Regions from separate parts of the Homo sapiens genome. Here regions 1, 2, 3 and 5 are each linked to region 4. The links are contacts of gene promoters, found by promoter capture Hi-C in blood cells and fetal thymus (Javierre and others, 2016). All regions are on one chromosome and are shown on one strand. The core of a region is centred on a gene start or on the middle of the fragment in contact, and the rest is flanking DNA. Distances in the headings are between cores, read along the strand shown. Region 1 overlaps AHCYL1 (adenosylhomocysteinase like 1). Region 2 overlaps AHCYL1 (adenosylhomocysteinase like 1). Region 3 has its middle 3.9 kb from the start of ALX3. Region 4 holds the start of GSTM3 (glutathione S-transferase mu 3). Region 5 has its middle 11 kb from the start of SYPL2.

Evidence for each region. The method cuts DNA at HindIII sites, captures the fragments that hold promoters and counts their contacts. A CHiCAGO score of 5 or more calls a contact.
Region 1: a contact is called between a fragment that was not itself captured here and the fragment with the promoter of GSTM3 in region 4, in 10 of 17 cell types (M2 macrophages, monocytes, neutrophils and 7 more). The highest score is 6.7, in M2 macrophages.
Region 2: a contact is called between a fragment that was not itself captured here and the fragment with the promoter of GSTM3 in region 4, in 4 of 17 cell types (M1 macrophages, M0 macrophages, M2 macrophages and 1 more). The highest score is 6.6, in M1 macrophages.
Region 3: a contact is called between a fragment that was not itself captured here and the fragment with the promoter of GSTM3 in region 4, in 1 of 17 cell types (M2 macrophages). The highest score is 5.4, in M2 macrophages.
Region 5: a contact is called between a fragment that was not itself captured here and the fragment with the promoter of GSTM3 in region 4, in 1 of 17 cell types (M2 macrophages). The highest score is 5.0, in M2 macrophages.

What each region holds. Positions count from the first base shown.
Region 1 is chr1:110,003,379-110,006,078 of GRCh38, reverse strand. The region is part of intron 1 of AHCYL1 (adenosylhomocysteinase like 1); the gene reads right to left. Among named protein-coding and RNA genes, the nearest start is that of AHCYL1, 20 kb to the right of the region's middle. The HindIII fragment of the contact is 5,770 bases long and covers 1-2,700 here.
Region 2 is chr1:110,022,235-110,024,934 of GRCh38, reverse strand. AHCYL1 (adenosylhomocysteinase like 1) reads right to left here. Exons shown (of 17, transcript NM_006621.7): 17 at 1,193-2,700. Among named protein-coding and RNA genes, the nearest start is that of STRIP1, 11 kb to the left of the region's middle. The HindIII fragment of the contact is 837 bases long and covers 879-1,715 here.
Region 3 is chr1:110,073,260-110,075,959 of GRCh38, reverse strand. No RefSeq gene overlaps it. Among named protein-coding and RNA genes, the nearest start is that of ALX3, 3.9 kb to the right of the region's middle. The HindIII fragment of the contact is 4,875 bases long and covers 1-2,700 here.
Region 4 is chr1:109,739,610-109,742,309 of GRCh38, reverse strand. It overlaps GSTM3 (glutathione S-transferase mu 3), which reads left to right and starts at 1,272. Exons shown (of 9, transcript NM_000849.5): 1 at 1,272-1,357; 2 at 1,799-2,070; 3 at 2,402-2,477. The coding sequence starts at 2,023. RefSeq lists a silencer at 1,833-2,062. The HindIII fragment of the contact is 14,932 bases long and covers 87-2,700 here.
Region 5 is chr1:109,454,638-109,457,337 of GRCh38, reverse strand. No RefSeq gene overlaps it. Among named protein-coding and RNA genes, the nearest start is that of SYPL2, 11 kb to the left of the region's middle. RefSeq lists a silencer at 2,485-2,685. The HindIII fragment of the contact is 3,150 bases long and covers 1-2,700 here.

The sequences.
Region 1 (2,700 bases), core at 135-2,634, 260 kb before region 4:
CTGTGTCTTAAAAACCCAATTAAATATCAGGCCAGTTTAACATGCTATTTAAAGCACCTCTTCAAATAGCTTAGCAGGTACAATGGTTGACTTTCTTCCATGTGATACTGAGAATGGTAAAGAAAAGCTCTACCAAACGAATAATTTGGGGTATATGCACTACCTAGTGGGAAGTCTGCTGACAAAGTGAGCTGAAAGAATTGTGCAGACCTTACCAAGAGAAGGGGATCAGAGACAATCCAAAAAAGTTACATACCTCAAGAGAAGAAAAATTGTATGCTATTCCTTTAGTTGATCCTAATTGATTTTTTTTTTTTTTACCATTAGAAGCTGAGTTTACTTTCATAAACACACATCCTATATTCTCAGATGTTAAATAGCCCAGCTACACTCCTTCCCAGGGCCCACCCAATTTTGCCTGCTATCTCCTGAATGAGAAAGAATTAACAGCCACCAGAATTCCACTACAACATTTTAGCCAAGAAATGGTGATCAGGATAATATCTGTGATGCATTATATTCTTTAGTCATCACATTTGCTAGGCACCAACTAAGTATCCAGTGCTACTCCAGGAAAGTTCTATGCAAGGAAACACGGTCCCTTAAAATCTGTAGACATGTTTTGACCCACAGTATAGTAATGTAAGTGGCTTTGGCATGGAATTTCACTGCTCCATGAGGAACATGCCAGATATTATAGTCTTCACAGCCTTATCTGGATATTGTTTAACTTAGGTTTAACTTAGACATCTTGTCAAATTCGTTATTTCAAATACCAATCTAACAGCTTTTAATTTCCTCAAAAAGGTTTCTTCCTAAGTGTCAAGAACTAGATTCAAAGATAAACAACAATTACTAGGAAAACAAATCATTAAGAAAGTGTAATGTAGAAGTGAGCAGAGCAGTCTTTCTTACTGCAGAGAATTATTTGAAGGGCTAGGATCCCTCTTTTGGTACACTACTGATTCTCTGGGACATTCCTAAATTTATATATTCTGTCCCATTGTCTGTCCTAGCATATTGTGTGCAGAGATTTTTCTGTTTAGAAATTATGGTCAGCATATTTCTTAGCAACTGAGCAAAAAAAAAGTAACAATAAAAAACTAGATATTTTAACAAGATCATCATTACTAAGCATAGTGTGTCAGAACACTTTTCAAGATTCCTACATCTTTTCTAATCCCTTTTTCACACATATTTTCTGGTTAATTTATTTTTTCTTCTACAGATTCTACCCTCACCCACTCCTTTTTCAGAGGAAAGGAAGAGAATATGGCAGACAGCCAAAACAGGTGTAACACCTTTACTTCCTTACGTTCTCTCTCTTTTTAAAGAGACAGGGTCTCACTATGTTTGCCAGGCTGGCTGCAAACTGCTGGGCTCAAACAATCTTCCCACCTCCTGAGTAGCTAGGACTATAGGCCCACACCACCATGCCCAGTTTTTCTTGATATTTACCAGTCTGATTCCCACTTCAGATGAACCCAAAGAAACAGTTATCAATAAACACCCACTCCTTGGTACAAGAAATACACAAGTCTGAATACCTTTCACTTCAAGTAAAAAAAAAAGTGTTTCCCAAAGAAAGGAATTCCCTTCCCAACACAATGCTCCCAGACACACCCACCAGAAAACAACTTATCTCAAGGGAATCAATCTCAGGCCAGAGTTGAATCCACAGCCACCTCCAGTCACTTCTTCCATTCCCTTGTGCAGAAACCAGTCTTCTGAGACTTAGCAGGTTTTGGCTGCTCCCGGCTCTCCTTCCCTGTCTCAAGTTTCTTAAGTTCTCACTCTCCCCAGATGGGGCCTGAGTTTCTTGGGGGAGAGGGAGGGCAGGCTGACTAATCTCAGCACATATCTTCCCCCGCCGACTCCCGCCTCTGTGTCTCAACAGTAACAGGATATAACACACACACAGCTAGAATCCAATTCCACAGTCAGAAGCAATACTCCTTTCAAAGTAGGACTCAACTAGATCTTCTGTCAATGCTCGCGGCGAGAAGAGGTGAGGCAATACCAGGCCCCAAACTGCTGAGTCACTTAAAAGGTAAGGAACACACAGCTTGAAAAACTCTGCCAAAGAGTAGTTTGACCCTTGTGAGCTACTCCCCTCTCTTCCTGTAAGACTAAACACTTCACTGACTTCACTTCACTATTATCTCCTAAAGTGCTCCAGTCAATGAGTAATCGAGGCCTGCAACTGCCAACTAGAAGTAAACATAAGAAGTTAGAAAAAAGGCAGTAAGTAGGACAGAAAAGGGCTTCCCAATCTTTTGAACACCACAATTTGCAACAGAATGTAACACACACCCAGACTGTTTCAATGCCTATTTAGCTATCTACTACCTACCTAGTTGCCTGACCTGTCCATACTTCTTTTCTCAGTCCCACCACCAATATTATATAAACACATGCCAGTCATCTCTGTTTCTCCCGATATTGATTTATCATCAATTCTAGGTTTAAAAAAAAAAATCAGTACAGGTGACTGAAGAAATCCTGGTTCCTGGAACATACCCACTACTTTAGTGACAACATTAAAGTCTCCTCTCCCACCCCCTACCCTCCATCCCCACTCGCTAGCACCATTGTTGTACTTTACTTTTCCAACTTTATTATAATCATTTTCAGCACATAAAAAAATTCAAAAGCATAGTATAATAAACACCTGTACTCTCCACCTAGAATAAATCTTTC
Region 2 (2,700 bases), core at 48-2,547, 280 kb before region 4:
CTAACTAATCTGCCATTGCCATTCATCCCCTGCATAGATGCATTCCCCACGCCACTTGGGATCTGACTCCTTGTACCAAGCTACATCCCCAGTTCCCACAAGGATACCACCCACACTCACAGGCTGCAAATCCACATGAATCCCTAGCTTGCTCTGTCTTACCTAATGGCCAAATTGTGGGTAAAGGAAAAAGGGAAGGAATTTGGATCTTGTTGGAATTTTACGTAAACACCACAAAGGAAGAGATCATCTGATTTAAACTGATGTATCCCCAGTATCTAAAACAGACTTTGGCATATATGAGGTAATAGTTAGGTCCTTTTTGCCCTTCTACCTTCTGCTATATGAGGATGCATAAGAGGTACCATCTTGGAAGCAGGCAGCAGCCCTCTTCAGACACCAAATCTGCCAACGACTTGACCTTGGACTTCCCAGCCTCCAACTGTGAGAATATCAATTTCTGTTCTTTATAAATTACTCAGTCTCAGGATTTTGCTGGAGCAGCAGAAACTGACCAAGATAAATACTTTCTTACATCAGAAGACACTGGCCAGTAATCCCAGCACTTTGGGAGGCAGAGGCAGGAGGATCACTTGAGCCCAGGAGTTTGAGATCAGCCTAGATTTCATGGCGAAACCCCATCTCTACCAAAAATACAAACAATTAGCTGACACTGTGGTCCCAGCTACTTGGGAGGTTGAGGTGGGAGGATCACTTGAGCCCGGAAGGCAGAAGTTGCAGTGAGCTGAGATCAAGCCACTGCACTCCAACCTGGGTGACAGTGAGACCTTGTCTCAAAAAAATAAAGAGAAAAAAAAAAAAAAAAGACACTGAGACCACTTCAGAAATGGATACAGGTGTGGGAGGAGGCTGAAGCTTACATAACTTTGGGGGCATTCTTCAGAAATTAGGTCTTAGAAGGACTATGCAAATGAGGAACCCTGAGGCTTAAGCAGCAAGTCTGCTTCCTGAAGGAAGTTAGGAGTGAAAGTACCCAGGCCCGGTGCTTGGCACAGAGCAGGCATACAAAACTTCAGGTATTACTTTGAAGAATCCTGTATCCAGCCTCTATATATTAGGCCCTCAACAAATCTCTATTAAATGCTACTGACCTATAACTTGTCACACCCTAGAAAACAGGTTCTAATGAAGTTTTGCTGTTTAACAAAGAATGACACATACGGACTGCCAATAAGGTCTTATCATTTTAATCGATTTTAATGATTATTGCTCATCTGCAAGGATTAATATTGCATTCATTAAAAATCATTCAATACAAAATGAACTTGTTCTTCCCAAGTTGCTCTCCACATGCTCCCTCTGATGCCAGACTTTTTTTTTTTTTTAACAGTGTCCTTTGTTACATGGCTTGACAGAGACAGAGCCCTTACCTATTATTCCTATGGACACGGTAATAGATATGGGATCAAGGGGCAGGTCAGAGGGCAGGTGAATGTGGGTCCCTTCCCTCCAGCAGGGCTAACGTGATGGATACACTGTTGGCCAGGTTACCTCCCCTAACAGATGTGGTGTTCTGATTGGTTGGTTAAGTGCCCGAGGAAAATAGGCCTTAACTGTTAACATCTACAGAGAAGAAAGCATGGTCACACTGGCAAGGAGTAAGAAGGGATTGGGTAAAAGAAAATGGGAGAGAAAAGGGAAAAAAGTTTTGGCAAGACAATTGTTCCCTGCTAAGAAGCTGCAGGGTGAAAGCTTTCCTTTCTTCTATTTTTGTTTTTAATGTCTGTCTCTCTGATCAGTGGAAAAGTGAAAATTTCTAGTATCTAGCACTAACGTATGACCCAACTTTGAGGGATCACAAGCTAGAACAAGTTGAGGATTTAAAATCCTGGATAATTATATACTTAAAGCTCATGAGCATAAAGCTCACTTGACCATGCAGAAATGCTGGGAAGCAGGGTGCATGGCATGGGAATACATCTCCCTGATCTTTGAGAGAGCCTCTCTGGATATTCTTTCAGAGCATGAGCCAGGATGTACTGACTACTTTCTTCACACATCAGTTGCCCTTTATGATCTCAGTTCATAAACTCTTTGTGGTATGTAGCAATCAAAAGTCATATTACTTCTGTAAAACTAACATTATATAGGGTGTATAGTCCCAGACAAATTATATGAAGCTAGATTTTTCTTGCCCTGGCCCAATTTATCATTCCTCCTCCTGCCCACACCTACCTCCCTTTAAATATTTTAGGTTGCAGAAGCACAGCTGACCAGAAATTTGCTCTTAAAGATAAATCCTAAAGATAGAACTCAGTGCTTTATACTGAGTAATGGCTCAAGAAATTCGCCTTCAGCACAAGCTGTATGGTACACAGCTGATAGAATTTGCTGTTGTGGCTCCAGTTCACTGATGCTATGAACTACGGGCTAGAAACAGAGGGACTTAACAGGGCTTGAGACTAGCATTTCTCTAGACTCAGCATCCTTAGCTCCAAAGGTTCAAAAGAGAAATTGGTAACAACTAACCACTCAAGCAATTCCTCAGCATTAACACCAAAAATTCTCCTTAATTTTTCTTTTCTTTTTTTTTTTTTTTGGACAACAGAAATAAATCCTAGAGGACAAAATTAAACTCAATAGAGTGTAGTCTAGTTAAAAACTCGAAAAATGAGCAAGTCTGGTGGGAGTGGAGGAAGGGCTATACTATAAATCCAAGTGGGCCTCCTGATCTTAACA
Region 3 (2,700 bases), core at 40-2,539, 330 kb before region 4:
GGCATCCCCCACTCAACTTTCCAGATTTTCAGATTCAAACTTAAAGCATTCCATGACCAGCTGCCCCCAGCCCAAAGCTGGGACAGCTGCCCTTCTCCTAGCTCCCAGGCCCCCTGTGCTCTCCCAGCCTCAGCAGAGTCACACTCCATGGCGTAAATGCCTGTTGCTCTGTGTCTTTCTTCTGCTAGTCTGGAAAAGCCCTGGGAGTAAGTGGTACTCTCTCAGGATCTATTCTTACTGTGTGACTCCACTATCTGGCACATGGCAGGCAGTCAATAAATGCTTGGTGAATAAAGGAATGCATAAAATTAATCAAACTGTTAAAATGGCCAAAAAGTCTAACCTAAAACAGAAGGGTCTGTTTTATATCAAGAATTAGTTCATCAAAAACTCCTATACAAGACTCGGCGTGGTGGCTCATACCTGTAATCCCAGCACTTTGCAAGGCTGAGGCAGGTGGATCACCTGAAGTCAGGAGTTTGTGACCAGCCTGGCCAACATGGTGAAACCCTGTCTTTACTAAAAATAAAAAATTAGCAGGGTGTGGTAGTGCATGCCTGTAATCCCAGCTACTCGGGAGGCTGAGGCAGAAGAATTGCTTAAACCCACGAGGCAGAGGTTACAGTGACCCAAGGTCACGCCACTGCACTCCAGCCTGGGCGACAGAGACTCCGTCTCAAAAAAAAAAAAAAAAACTCCTCTACAAAATGACTTCTCTATGGTCCATGCCAGCACTTGCCACAGAAGAACCTATTCACCTTCACACAAAGGCAATAGGTCAAACTGAGGCCTACCAGAGAAGAGATACATCTCCGCCTCTCTGGCCCCCTCCCTCCATTACAACCCAACCTCAGTAAGCTGGGCAGAGAGAATGAGCAGAAAACCATAGGTTCAGTGGTGGATTCAGGCTCAAGAAACATGTGTATAATTACTATCACATTCATTCCCATAAAGCTGGAGTACAGACTCATTTCTTCCCATTTTCACATAAGAACCTGTGGCACAGAGAGGTTAAGTGTCTTTCCCAATGAAACAGATCAAATCAATGAAAGAGAAAAAACATCCCACAAATCTTATTCCAAAGCAGACTTCAGCCTGGGTTGTTAGAATCACAGCCAAGGATTCTGGGTGTCCACAACACAAAGATTTTTTCTTTTCTTTTCCTATCATTTTGCTTCTTCTCTCTCTCTCTCTCTCTGTCTTTTTCTCTCTCTGTCTGAGATCATGAGTGAGGAGGAAGCACCAGATCCACAGGTTTATTTACCATTCCTCAGCCTGCCCTTCCAGGAAGAATGTCACTAATGAGAAACAATCTTTTGGGTTCCCAAACCCAGAATTTTTATATGAATCAATTTAGGATTTCAGTATCTAAACAGGACAAAGGTAATACCAACTGTCTTTCCTTTGAAGGAAAAAAAGCAACTGAGTTTTCCCTGTTGGAAGGAAATTTTGTGTATGTCAAGCAAATCTCAGATCTGAGGTTACCTCTTTCTCATCGTCCCTATCCCTTCTGGAAATCCACTGGGGGAAAAAGAAGCACATGTCCTTCCTGTGGTGCAGGCTGAGGGAAGCAGAGAATGAAACGGAAAGTGGTGCTGGGGCTGATGTTTCCCTAAATGAAGAACTGACCTTACAGTTGAGGCCCAGAGCCAGGAACTCTTCTCACAAGACCAGATTCTATTCTAATTCACAGCCAAATGAGGATGATTTTCTTCAACGTGGATGAGACACTTCCATTCCAGCAAAGTGTAAGCACTGTGAAGGCAGGGATCACATGTCGTGTGTGCCACTATATCCTGGTACCAGCAAATGGGGATCACATGGTAGGCTCTCCTGTTAAATGAATGAATTAAACATTCAGCTGGTGTAAAACAGCTAGTAAGTATCATTTCCATTTAAAACGTAGCTCTTCTTAGCAGATGGAGAGGGGTTTTGTTCAGTTTTTTCATTACAGGGCCTGGAATTATCTGGATCTCGCCATCCACTCATCTCTTACTCCATGGACAATTTTTCAGTGACAAATGCTGTTATAATTCAGTTGGTTATTAAACAGCACAAATGGTGAATTCACAAATTCCCTTAAAATTCTGCCCCACATCTGGCTGCATTGGTCATAAACCTCTCAAGTGTTAAGCACTCTGTTTCATTTGGTCTCAGCTTAGCAGAAACCACCCTCTACCTACTGTATCAGTGGCCGCAGCTAGGCATACGAGTCTCAACAGATGCCATTTGCTGATCATGAAGGCAGCAGTGCAATGTCCCCAGGCCACTCTGGCCTCAGCCTTCCTTTCTGGAAGGAGTCCCAGCCTTCCCACTGGGAAAATGAGGGTGCACAGTGAATGATTTCAGCTTCGTTAACTGAAGAAGGACTGAGGAGTCGTGTGGAGTGGGGGACCGCGGATCTGAGTGTAAATTCTGGTTCTGGCACTAACTGGCTGTGTCTACCTGAACAAATGGCTCCCTCCTGGCCTCAGGCTCCTTCTCTAGAAAACAGGGTACCTATTTCACAGAGCTGTGAAGATTAAATAAACCAATCTTAGACAGGCATGGTGGCACATGCCTGTAATCCCAGCTATTCGGGAGGCTGAGGCAGGAGAATCACTTGAACCTGGGAGGTGGAGGTTGCAGTGAGCTGAGATCATGGCCACTGTGCTCCACCCTGGGCAACTGAGTGAGACTCTATCTAAAAAAAATAAAATA
Region 4 (2,700 bases), core at 23-2,522:
ACTAGAATCCTATGTCTCCCGAGTTGACCCTGTTGCAAATCTGTGCCCCTTTTCATTTGCATGGGCCCTGCCGAAATTCAGAAGCTTAGTTCTTCCCATGACTATAGGGGCCTCGGGCAGGTCTCTTGCTCTGTCAAGGTCAAAACCCCTACTTTCCTAAATTCAACCATTGATTCTCCATCTTCATCTTACTTGATCAGCCACACTTGACATAGTTGATCACTTCTCCCTTTAAACATCTTCACATGGCTTCTGGGACCTTTTGTTTTCCTCCTACCTCCCTGGCCACTCCTTTTCAGACTCCTTTGCTGGTTTGCTCTCATTTTTCCCTAACCTTTACATGTTGATATGCCAGAGCACCTCAAACCCTTAGACCTCATCTCTGCTACTCGTGCTCCCATGGTGATCTCATCTAGTCTCTGGTTTCAAACACAGAGTGATCACTCCTGTACTTGCTGTTTCCCTTTTCCTGGAGTTCTCTCTGCCTCCTGCAGGTAGGAAGTGATTCGAGATAAGAGAGGGAGAGAACTCTTCTGGCCAGGATAGAGGGTGATTCTGAGAAGGCTTCAAGGAAGAAGTGAGCATTTGAGCACGGCTACTTGAGGAAGGCTAGGCCATGGACATTAGGGTGCAGGCAGGAGCAGAGCAAACATGCTTGTAAAAGGAACAGCAATTATTCTGTTTTATATTTATATCAGCCCATGGTGGCCCCCACAGCAGAGTGGCTTGATCTCTCACCTCCTTCAGGTCTTTGTTTAAAGATTAACTTCTCCATGAGGCCTTCTATGAACATAACCTTTAAAAACATAAATCCCCTTCCTACTGGGACTCCCCCAGTTCCCACCCTGAGACCCCCTATCTCTCTTCTCGATTTTATTTCTCTCCATAGGATGTGTATCACCACCTGACTTACTAGCTATTTACTATATATTAGTTTATTTCTTCCCCATTAGAATGTAAACTTCCTGAGGGCAGGGATTTTGTCTGTTGAGTTCAGTTCTGTATCCCCAGCACCTAAAACAGTGCCTGTCCATAACAGGCATGTTAAACATTGTTGGACAGATGAATGAGTGAATGAAAAATGGTAGTACCTTTCCTCCTCCAGTCCATCCTACACAAAGAGGCAAGATTAATTTCCCTAAATGCGTGAGCATTAGGAAGTGGGAGGGATTGGAGGAGGAAATTATAATAAGGAATCCATAAATTACTTAAGCCCATAAAACAAAGGTAGGAAACATTCAAGATAAGAGACCTCTTCTGGCCAGGATAGAGGTTGGTTCTGAGAAGGCTTCAAGGAATAGGCAGACATTTCAGCAAGGCTGCTGAGGAAGGATAGGCTGTGGAAATTAGGATGCAGGTAGGAGGATCACAGAGCAAACACTCCAAGGTGGGAAATGCAAGTGTGTGTAGAAGGAACAGCAAGTATTGTTGGGTTGGGCTGGCTTATGAAGTTGTGACGGGCTGAGGGAGAGACAGGACTGGAAAAGCACGTTGGGGTCAGGTTGCAGAGGTCCTTGACTGACAGAGAGGGGAGCTTGGTCTGTGGGGAATCTTCTGCTCTGTGTGGTCAGAGGCTGGTCTGACTCTCCGGCCTTGCCCCAGTCTTCCTATCCTTCATCCAGCCCCGGCTGGCTCGGTAAAAACGGCGCGAATCTCGCTCTCCCTGGGTAACTAGGGTCCCCACTGCCTGGCTAGTGGTGCTTTTCGCGTCTTCACTGGCACCATTAATGAATGAAGTCTGGCTCCCACCCGCGGGGAAGGGAGGAGCCTCAACCTCGGGTCCTTTGCTCTCCTGCAGCACTCCTGCCCGGGTCCCGCCTCGGGGTCGCCAGGCCCTGAACCCCAACGCCGGCATTAGTCGCGCCTGCGCACGGCCCTGTGGAGCCGCGGAGGCAAGGGACGGAGAACGGGGCGGAGGCGGAGTCAGGGCGCCCGCGCGTGGGCCCCGCCCCCTTATGTCGGGTATAAAGCCCCTCCCGCTCACAGTTTCCCTAGTCCTCGAAGGCTCGGAAGCCCGTCACCATGTCGTGCGAGTCGTCTATGGTTCTCGGGTACTGGGATATTCGTGGGGTGAGTGCCGTCTCAACGGTAGAGCCGCTCGGTCAAAGAGACTGACGCGGAGAGGGCGGGTCTCTGGGTCCGCGATCTCCAGCAGGAGCAGCTCTACGCGGGAGCCTTTTCGAGCTGCCGAGCCACGGATGTCGACCCCTGCCCAGCCTCTGGGATCGCGGGCCCTGTGGGGAGGGGCGGAGGAGACCACGCCGGAGCCGGGCCTAGGGGCCGCTTAACCACCGCCCCGGCAGGACGCAGGGACTCGGCAGCCCCGGGCCGGGGAACGTTAGCGGGCGGGGGTTGGGAATGGGTGGGAGCTGCGCAGTCGCTGAACCGCTGTCTTCCCCAGCTGGCGCACGCCATCCGCCTGCTCCTGGAGTTCACGGATACCTCTTATGAGGAGAAACGGTACACGTGCGGGGAAGGTAATGCCGCTCCGCGTGCCCGTGCAGCCAAGCTGGCCCTCCACCTGCCCTGGTCTTCTTACGCCCAGAGGGTGGTGGCGTCGCGCCAAGGCCGGGTGGGACGTTTGCCCCAATCTGGGTGAATAGAGACACATCCTTTATCTGGAACTGGGGGTTCTCTTTTTAACATAGCCCAAACCCGTCTTAATGCTTAACCAAATAGGGCTCAGAGGCTCAATGGTTA
Region 5 (2,700 bases), core at 31-2,530, 280 kb after region 4:
ATTAATATTATCATTTACAAAAGTATCTTGAACTTGATGGAGCTTGTGTTGATAAATAAAGTTTATATTTTTAATTTTTATATTTTGATTTCACTTTTTCGAGTCCCCTCACATTTAATTTTGGGGGAGCCATTATAAATGATTTTTTGTTCATTTGTTTGTTTTTTGATATGGAGTCTTGCTCTATTGCCCAGGCTGGAGTGCAGGGGTGCGATCTTGGCTCACTGAAACCTCCACTTCCTGGATTCAAGCTATTCTCCTGCCTCAGCCTCCCAAGTAGCTGGGATTACAGGTGCCCACCACCATGCTCAGCTAATTTTTATATGTTTAGTAGAGACAGGGTTTCACCATGTTGGCCAGGCTGGTCTTGAACTCCTGACCTCAAGTGATCCACCCACTCTGGCTTCCCAAAGTGCTGGGATTACAGGTGTGGGCCACCATGCCCAGCCATGATATTGTTTTAAATTGAAGTTTTCAGTTGACAATTGCTAGTATATAGAAAAATGACTTTTTTTCTTTTAATCGTTTATCCTAGGCCAGGCATGATGGCTTATGCCTGTAATCCCAGCACTTTGGGAGGCCGAGGCGGGTGGATCACCTGAAATCAGGAGTTCGAGACCAGCCTGGCCAACATGGTGAAACAATGTCTCTACTAAAAATACCAAAAATTAGCCGGGTGTAGTGACAGGCACCTATAATCACAGCTATTCAGGAGGTTGAGACAGGAGAATCACTTGAACCCAGGAGGCAGAAGTTGCAGTTAGCTGAGATTGCACCATTGCACTCCAGCCTGGGCAACAAGAGTGAAACTCTGTCTCAAAAAAAAAATCCTTTATCCTGTGACCTTTATACATTCCTATTTTAGTTCTACGAGGTTTGTGTGTGTGTGTGATTCCTTGGGATTTTCTATGTACACTACTATGTCATCTGCAAATAGAAACAGTTTTATTTCTTTCTTTACAAACTGTATGCCTTTTATTTATTTTCCTTGCCTTATTGCCTTGGCTAGAACTTTCCAGTACAATGTTGAATAGGAGTGGTGAGAGTTGGCATACTTGCCTTGTTTCTCATCTGAGGGGAAAGGTATTCAGCCTTTCACCATTTAGTACAATGTTAGCTCTAGATTTTCTGTCGAAGTCCTTTATCAGGTTGAAGAAGTTTCTCTGTGTTACTTGTTCGCTGAGAGTTTTTTTTTATCCATGGATGGATGTTGAATTTCATCAAATGCTTTTTCTATATCAATTGCTAAGAGTTGCCATTACAACATGTAATTGAGACTACTGAAAATAGATTTACATGCAAGGTGTGTAAGGAAGATAAAATGTGTTTTTGGTAAAAGATTATAAGAAGGCATGGGAATGTAAATTTTTGCCTAGTTTAGAGAGGTAAAGGATTGTTTTAAATTAGATAAGATTAAAAAACTAGATAAGATAAAGCTAAAGGCTTAAACAAGTGGTGGAAAGTTTGTAAAAATTAATCTTTCAAAAGAAATCGTGTGTGTGAACATATTGACTAACTTCAAAAAGGTATTATAGGGTTTTTCCACAAATTGAGCATTGGAATAAAAGCACAAGATTTTCTTAAGGCATTGATCTACTCTTTAACAAAATTTATAAAGAGTTATGAAAGTCTTATAAGAATCTCACCTCATGGTCAAACTGGTTAAGATTGGATAGAATTATCTATAAGGTTTCATTAAAAAAATTGGGGTTGACATTAATAATAGACTAATGCAAAGGTGAAATTTAGCTTTCTCTCCTTTGAACAGGATTTTTATGTAGTATTAAGGACAGATTGTTTGGAAAACTAAATCTTCCCTCTTAATGAGTAAAGGTTTTTGCCTTGTTTAAACTTTTTGAGTCATCATTTTGGCTAAATAAATGACTTATGGTAATCCGGAATTCTATTTCATAATATCAGGTGTTTTAAACCTTTAACATATTTGACAGCCTTCCCCAGATCAAACTTCAGTTTCAAGGTTGTCTTTTCCAACCCTAACTTTTGGGTGCCACAGAGGGCCCCTGGGGCATCCAAAAGAGTTAGGTAAACAGGGTTATTTGACATGTTTATTTATGTAGCATTGCCAAAATAATGTTTAATTCTCTTCAGGTTATATTTTAGTGAATAATGTTAACATATGTTCCAGAATTGCAAGGGATTTCTAAAATTCTAATGTCTGAGTATGTGCTAGCAATCATAATTAAGGTTACTATGTTAAGTTATTGTCAACCACAGAAATAACCAAATTTCTTTGTCAATTGTGTTTTTGATCCTAACTACCCTGAGGACATTTTGTCATTCACAGACAATTGTTGTCTTGCTTTGATTCTTTTCAAAAGATGGTTTATAATCAGCTATAGGACTTTGACAGGTGGTCTGAAATACAGGTTTCTGATAACTTTGGAGATTGCAACATTGGAATAGAGGAAAACATACAGGACTCATGAAGAGCCAAAATGTTCATGAATATCAAGCAGAATAAGGGTTCACTGAATTGACTGAACTAACAGAAAACTGAAGTAATCTTTTTATAACTTTTTGCTTAAGACATTGCTGATCCTTGTTTTGTTTTTCAGAATCAAGGAAACTTTTATTTTGAGACATTTACAGCCTTTAATAATTGAGTAAATTATACTCCTGTGAACAAAATTTGAAGCATATTTGTTTCTCCCTGCCTGGTTTCTCTATAATTTGGAAACT